Regions from separate parts of the Homo sapiens genome. Here region 2 is linked to region 1. Evidence: promoter capture Hi-C in human tissues and cell types (Jung and others, 2019). All regions are on one chromosome and are shown on one strand. The core of a region is centred on a gene start or on the middle of the fragment in contact, and the rest is flanking DNA. Distances in the headings are between cores, read along the strand shown. Region 1 holds the start of C19orf81 (chromosome 19 open reading frame 81). Region 2 overlaps POLD1 (DNA polymerase delta 1, catalytic subunit).

Region 1 (3,612 bases), core at 320-2,819:
GAAATGGAAGACAGCTTGATGGGAGAGAAGCAGATGTGAAGATGCCAGGAGGGGGTCAGGGCCCCCAGAACTGAGTAAGACTATTTCAATCTGGACTGTTTTAATTGCTAATAACGGAAACGCAAATCAAATTGACCTAAGCATAAAAGGAAGTTTATTGATTGGATGAGGGCTTCAGGCATTGCTGGATCCAGGTGTTCCAATCATCTCCAGGAATCCAACTGTCTGTATCTTTGGGCTATGCTTCCCTCGTGTTGTCTTTGCTCTCAGGCAAGTTATCTCCCTGCATGGTGATGTGGTAGCACCGAGAGCTCCAACCCTGGCTCTGACCAGCCCCAAAACCACAGGGGAAAAACCCTGTTTTCTAACAGGTCCAGCAAAAGTCCAAAGGTTGACTTTGTAGCCTAGATTGATTCTTAAGCTCGCCACTGAACAAATCACTGAGGAAATCAAGGTGCCACCACCTAGAACGAATACTTAGTAAGCAGGAACAACAGACAGTCCAGAGACCATCTGGATGTGGAGAAAGAGGAAGAGAAAGAGATACAAGTAACAGAGACAAAGACTGCAAGGACAGACAAAACAAATAAGCGAAGGTCCAGCTTCCTCTCCCACAATTCCTGCAGAGAGCTCTGCAGACCCAGAGAAAGGGATGCTGAACAGGCACCTACACGGCTAGACCCCTTCTCTCTAGCACGAGAGGCCCCGTGAGACCCCAGACCCAGAAGTCCAGGCCCCCATCCTCTCCTCCCTCAGACCCAGGAGTCCAGACCCCAGGCCCTCCTCCCTCAGACCCAGGAATCCAGGCCCCCACCCCTCCCCCTCCCTCTGGAGGCACCATGGCAACCAGGCCCCCTGCCCACCATCCCCTCCCCACTAGAGAACCCACTTTCGTTGGAATCTCGCCTGTTTCTAACCAGTTCCTGGCTGGGGCAGGGATGAGCAGAGGGCAAGTGGGAACAGAAAGGGGATGACAGAGGGGAGGGGGCCTCAAGGGGGCAGTGGAGGCAGCTAGGAGAGGATAGAGATGGGGCAAGGAGACTGGTGAGAGGTGGGAAGACAGAGAGAGGGTGACGGGGTTAGGGAGAGGCAGAAAACGATGAAGACAAGGAGGGACGGGGGCCTGGGGAGATGCTGGGGAAACTGATGGAGACTGAAGAGATGGAGCCCAGGAGAGAAGGAGGGAGGAGGAGGGCAGAGAAATCAAGCAAAAGAGTGGTGGAGACGTGGGGACAGAGGGGAGGAGGCAGGGGGGCAGAGAGATGGGGAGAGAATGAGGAAGGGAGGTGGAGAGAGAGGGGTGGGGAAAGGGACTCTAGGAGACAGAGAGAGATAGGAGGAAAAACAGGGAAATGGGAAAGAAGGGATTGGGGCACACAGGGAGTCCCTGAGGTCAGGGGAACCCAGATCTCCACATGGTCTCAGCCTTCCAGTTCCTCTGTAATTCTACCCCGGGGCTTCAAAGAGGAGGTAGAGGAGGCAGCGGTGGGGAGAAGGAGCTGGGGTGGGTGGCCCAGGCAGAGCCTCTCTTGCCACCTTCCTGAGACATCCCTCACCCACCTTCCCAGGATGCAGCCAGAGGTGGAGCCCGTGTGCTTCCCTGCCATGGGCAGCCCCACCATGCACAGGAAGGCAGGTACTGAGCTGTGTCTTTGGGGGAAGGGGTGGACTTCCTCCATCCAGGCAGTGCGTAGTAGCCCGGGCTCACAGTGTGGCCTTAAGCGAGTCACTGGCACTCCAAAGTGAAAGCCATCCCTAGCATTCCTGGATTCACCAGATTCCTGGAGAGCGGCCCCCTTGGACCTCAAACTACATTTCCCATGAGCCTCTGCAGTTCCTTGGCCAATGCCCTGGACTCAGAACTACATTTCCCATGAGCCTCTGGGGCCTAAGCAACACCTCTGAGGCCATTCTTCTCCTAGGTAACCTCACTGTCTTGTCTCCCACCCTGAGCTCAGCATCTTCCCCCAAAGCTGCTCTCCTCCTTCCTGGTTTCCATTTTCAAATGGCCCCACCGCCAACCCAGTCACTGGTGCCATCCTTCCACCTCCCACAATTCCCTCCCACAGCCCATCAGGCCCTATCTTCCTGCCCTCTGACTCTCCCTTCCCCATTCCTTCCTCTCTGTCCCCGCAGCCCTGTCCCAGGTCTCATCCTCTTCCATGTGGACCCTCTCCTCACCTCCTCCCTGGTCCCCAGTTTCTCTCCTCCTACCTATCCCTCCATGGCTCCAGAGAGGTCTCTCTGACTTCCTGCAGTGATCCTGGCTGTCCCTTGCTCATAACACTTCCTAGCTTCCTGTCACCTCTAGGACAGAGACCCAAAGCTCCAGCCTGGCTTTTGAGGCCCTGTGTGGTCTGACCCCTGCTGACAACTTCAGGCTCCTAGCCCAGCACTTCCTGCTAGCACTCTGTGCTGTAGCACAGCTCATGCAGTTACACTCATTCAACATTTATGGAGTAGTATCTCAGTGAGGATGCATGTAACTGCAGGTAATAGAAAACCAAACTCAGGACTGGGTGTGGTGGCTCACGCCTATAATCCCAGCACTTTGGAGGCCGAGGTGAGTGGATCACCTGAGGTCAGGAGTTCAAGGCCAGCCAGCCTGGCCAACATGGTGAAACCCCATCTCTAAAAATACAAAAATTAGCCAGGTGTGGTGCCGGGTGCCTGTAATCCCAGTTACTAGGGAGGCTGAGGCAGGAGAATCGCTTGAACCCAGGAGGCAGAGGCTGCAGCGAGCCAAGATTGTGCCACTGCACTCCAGCCTGGGTGATGGAGGGAGACTCTGTCTCAAAAAACAAAACAAACAAACAAACAAACAAAAACACCCAAAACCAAAACTCACTGCAGCCTTGAGCTCCTGGCTCAAGTGATCCTCCCACCTCAGCCTTCGAGGCCGAACAAATGCCCTGATGGCAAAACAGGCGTTGTTTCTCTGCCTTTAGGTCTCTTTTAGTGCTTTTGAAGGCATCTTTCTTTTGGAGACCCCACAATGCACCATCTCTAGCCTAGACTGAGGCACCCACGTGACATGTAATTTATATGTAGCTCCAGAAAAGTCAAGTGGAGTTGAGTCGACCAGTTGGCTAGTTTTGTTGATCGACGTTTGTTCATTTCGATTTTGCTGTTTTCTTTGCAGCGTTGTGGAACCAATCACATTTTTTAGTTGATCAGGTTGCAAACTTCAGCATAGGCCATTAGAAAGCCCCTGGGTCCCAAGCATTTTGCCTGTAGTGCCTAATGGATGAAACGGCCTGGCTTGTTCTCATGCTGGGAGAGGAGACGTGAAACACGCCATCTCACAGATCATTCATAGCCTCCAATGGCAATAAGCGCTCTTTAGTCTTGGGGCTCAAGGGAATTCTGGGAAGTTCTTGCAGGTGACTCTCTTCTCTTTTGCTCAAAAACCTTGGCCCATGCTAGGCCCTTCATGGGAAACATCCTTCTCTCTGTCACCTCTTTATTTGGTAAATACCTTCTTATTCTTTAGGTCTCACTGTGGACACCTCCTCTAGAGAGCCTTCCCTGATTGCCCCTAGACCGGGAGACTGGGCTTTCCCTCCACCTTGTAACACTTTCATTGAAACACACATTGCCCTTTATCTGAGA
Region 2 (3,612 bases), core at 1-2,500, 240 kb before region 1:
GTCCTCGCCACCCCCCACCAGGCACGTCTGTGGCCCCCTCCAGGCAATGGCATCCTGGATGCACTTTTTCTCCCCACTCCCAATCCGCACGGCCCCACCTATACCCACTCCATTTCCCACCTTCTCCCCTCCCAGGCCATGCACGAGGGGCTGCTGATGCCCGTGGTGAAGTCAGAGGGCGGCGAGGACTACACGGGAGCCACTGTCATCGAGCCCCTCAAAGGGTGAGGCCCCAGGCTGGGTGCAGTTTTTACCTGTAATCTCTGGGAGGCTGAGGTGGGAGGATCACTTGAGCTCAGGAGTTTGAGACCAGCCAGGGCAACATAGCGAGGCCCCTGCTCCACAAAATTTTTTTATTTTTATTTATTTTTATTTTTATTTTTTTGAGACAGAGTCTCGCTCTGTCACCCAGGCTGGAGTGCAGTGGCGCAATCTCAGCTCACTGCAAGCTTTGCCTCCCGGGTTCACGCCATTCTCCTACCTCAGTCTCCACAGCAGCTGGGACTACAGGCGCCCACCACCACGCCTGGCTAATTTTTTTTTTTTTTTTTTTTTTTGCATTTTTAGTAGGGACGGGGTTTCACCGTGTTAGCCAGGATGGTCTCGATCTGACCTCGTGATCCACCTGCCTCGGCCTCCCAAAGTGCTGGGATTATAGGCGTGAGCCACCGTGCCCGGCCGAAAAAATTTTTAAAAATTAGCCAGGCGTGGTGGTGCATGCCTGTAATCCCAGCTACTTGGGAGGCTGAGCTGGGAGGATGATGAGCCCAGGAGGTGGAGGCTGCAGTGAGCGATGATTGCGCCACTGCCCTCCAGCCTGGGCGACAGAGCAACACCCCGGCCCTAAAATAAATTAATAGGCCAGGCACGGTGGCTCACCCCTGTAATCAATCCCAGCACTTTGGGAGGTCAAGGCAGGCGGATCACAAGTTCAGGAGATTGGGACCATCCTGGCTAACACGGTGAAACCCCGTCTCTACTAAAAATACAGAAATTAGCTGGGCATGGTGGCGGGCGCCTGCAGTGCCAGCTACTCGGGAGGCTGAGGCAGAAGAATCGCTTGAACCCGGGAGGTGGAGGTTGCAGTGAGCTGAGATTGCGCCACTGCACTCCAGCCTGGGTGACAAAGCGAGACTCCGTCTCAAAAAAAATAAAATAAAATAAAATAGTAGATTAATTATATATATTATTTTTCTTTTTCTTTTTCTTTTTTTGACACAGGGTCTCACTCTGTCACCCAGGGTGGAGTGCGGTGGCATGATCTTGGCTTACTCCACCTCCTAGGCTCAAGCAATCCTCCTGCCTCAGGCCCCTGAGTAGCTGGGACCACAGGCGTGCACCACCACACCTGGCTAATTTTTAAAATTTTTTTGTAGAGATAGGGTTTTGCCATGTTGCCCAGGCTGATCTGAAACTCCTGAGTTCAAGCGATCCTCCTGCCTCAGCCTCCCAATGTGCTGGGATTGCAGGAGCGAGCACTGCTCCCAGCCAATGAATGATTTTTTTTTTTTAAAGGGTGAGGCCACAAGACAGGGCGGGGGCGGCATGGGAACTCCTAGCCCTGACTCCCGGCCGCGGCTGCTCCCCTCCCAGGTACTACGACGTCCCCATCGCCACCCTGGACTTCTCCTCGCTGTACCCGTCCATCATGATGGCCCACAACCTGTGTTACACCACGCTCCTTCGGCCCGGGACTGCACAGAAACTGGGGTATAGTGCCCAATTCAGCATGTGTCCCCCGAGGCCCATCTGGGCCTTCCCTTGGGGGGCTCAGTCTGGTGGGGGGCATAGGCACAGGCCCAGAGATAGTAGGGAGTGGAGGGGTGCTTGAGGGGCCTGCGTGTGCTCATGGCCAAGGCCAGGACCGTAGGGCAGAGGTGGGCTGGAGCAGGAGGGTGGCCGGCAGTCACCCCAACATCTTCCAACCCAGCCTGACTGAGGATCAGTTCATCAGGACCCCCACCGGGGACGAGTTTGTGAAGACCTCAGTGCGGAAGGGGCTGCTGCCCCAGATCCTGGAGAACCTGCTCAGTGCCCGGAAGAGGTGAGCCCTGGAGATCGCCTGCTTGGAGCTCAGACCTGTTGGGGCCTCTGGGCAATCCCTGTCCCTCACTGGGACACCCCAGGGCTGCCCAGCCACCCTGCCCTCAGCTGTGCGTGAATTAGCACAAGGCATCCCCTCCTGGCAGCTTCCTTTTGCCCCCTTGGCCAGAAGCTTCTGTGCAGTGCACAGTACGCCCAACCGTACATGGCACTCACTTCCAGAAAGGAGCCCTGACCAATGCCCAGGTGCCGCCTGAGTGTGCTTTCCCCGTGTTCCCTCGCAGGGCCAAGGCCGAGCTGGCCAAGGAGACAGACCCCCTCCGGCGCCAGGTCCTGGATGGACGGCAGCTGGCGCTGAAGGTGAGCGCCAACTCCGTATACGGCTTCACTGGCGCCCAGGTGGGCAAGTTGCCGTGCCTGGAGATCTCACAGGTGGGCACTCGGGCCCCTGGAAGGCAACTGGGGGCAGGTGGGCCCCCTGTGTAGGAGACCAGGGCTCCATGTGGGGGACCTGTATCCAGAGGACTGGGCACCCCAACTCACTGGCCTTCTAGAGAGAGGATGCCAATGTGGCTTGAGCAATTGGTCCATTCCTTCACTCAGCAAATGCCTACTGAGCACACACTGTGGTCAGGGCTCACTCTGTGCCCTGGGGATACAGAGGGGAACAAAATGGATGAGAGCTCCTGTCCCTGTCATCTTGCAGCCCAGTGGGGACACTGACAGGTCTGTGTAAACGTGTTTAGGACACAAGTGGCGCTACGAGCTTTGCAGCCGGATAAAGCAGGAGGTGCGGACTGTCGGGGAGTGATGGGGCTGGGCGGGACTCACCCCTCTCAATAGGCGACGCTCACACAGAGGCCAAGGGACGTGGGGAGGGAAGCCATTCACCGTCCCCACGGCAGCGTCCCGGTCTGCCTACCCACGGCAGCTCTGCTGCTTGAACAGAAAAACAGATTCTTTGAAACCACAGAGGGCCTGAGTTTCCGAGATTGCCAAGCTGGGGTCAGTGCCCCAGCTCCTGGCATATGAGGGCCTCGGAAGGGTCTTCCTGTCCAGCCTTCTCCCCTGGGACTTGAGTCTTGGCCCATTCCAGGCCAGTAGTTGTGCTGCTCTGCTTGGTTACCTCTAGCCACGGGGAGCTCCCTCTCTGGCTGGGCACTGCGCCACTTTTCACAGGGCTCTGGGTGGAAGGCTTGGATGAATTCTCAGTGGGTGGGGCCTTTGCACACACCCACCCACCCGCAGTTCTGGGGGTCCCAAAGACCACTTAGGTTCAGTGATTCACTAGAAGTACTCAGAGAGCAGAAAAGCTGGTTCTCATGGTTATGATTTAATACAGCAAAAGGACACAGATTAAACTCAGCAAAAGAAAGAGGTGCACAGGGCAGGGTATAGGAGGGACCAGGCGTGTCTTCCAGTTGTGCTCTCCCAGTAGAGTTGCCAGGCTGGCCCTCCTTCCTCCCAGTTTTGATGCGTGCCTGCACACATGCAGCATTGCCAACCAGAGGCTCTCACCCAAGCTTTGGGGTCCAGGGTTTTTCTTGGGTGTCAGTCCTATAGGCATGG

What was found. The method cuts DNA at HindIII sites, captures the fragments that hold promoters and counts their contacts. A contact is called where the count stands out against the background at its distance.
Region 2: a contact is called between a fragment that was not itself captured here and the fragment with the promoter of C19orf81 in region 1, in 2 of the 25 tissues and cell types used here (bladder and pancreas).

Annotation. Positions count from the first base shown.
Region 1 is chr19:50,647,876-50,651,487 of GRCh38, forward strand. It overlaps C19orf81 (chromosome 19 open reading frame 81), which reads left to right and starts at 1,570. Exons shown (of 5, transcript NM_001195076.2): 1 at 1,570-1,636. The coding sequence starts at 1,570. It also overlaps a transcript of SYT3 not described here. RefSeq lists an enhancer at 454-503. The HindIII fragment of the contact is 25,500 bases long and covers 1-3,612 here.
Region 2 is chr19:50,407,192-50,410,803 of GRCh38, forward strand. POLD1 (DNA polymerase delta 1, catalytic subunit) reads left to right here. Exons shown (of 27, transcript NM_002691.4): 14 at 136-224; 15 at 1,594-1,710; 16 at 1,931-2,044; 17 at 2,328-2,475. Among named protein-coding and RNA genes, the nearest start is that of SPIB, 9.9 kb to the right of the region's middle. The HindIII fragment of the contact is 5,390 bases long and covers 1-3,612 here.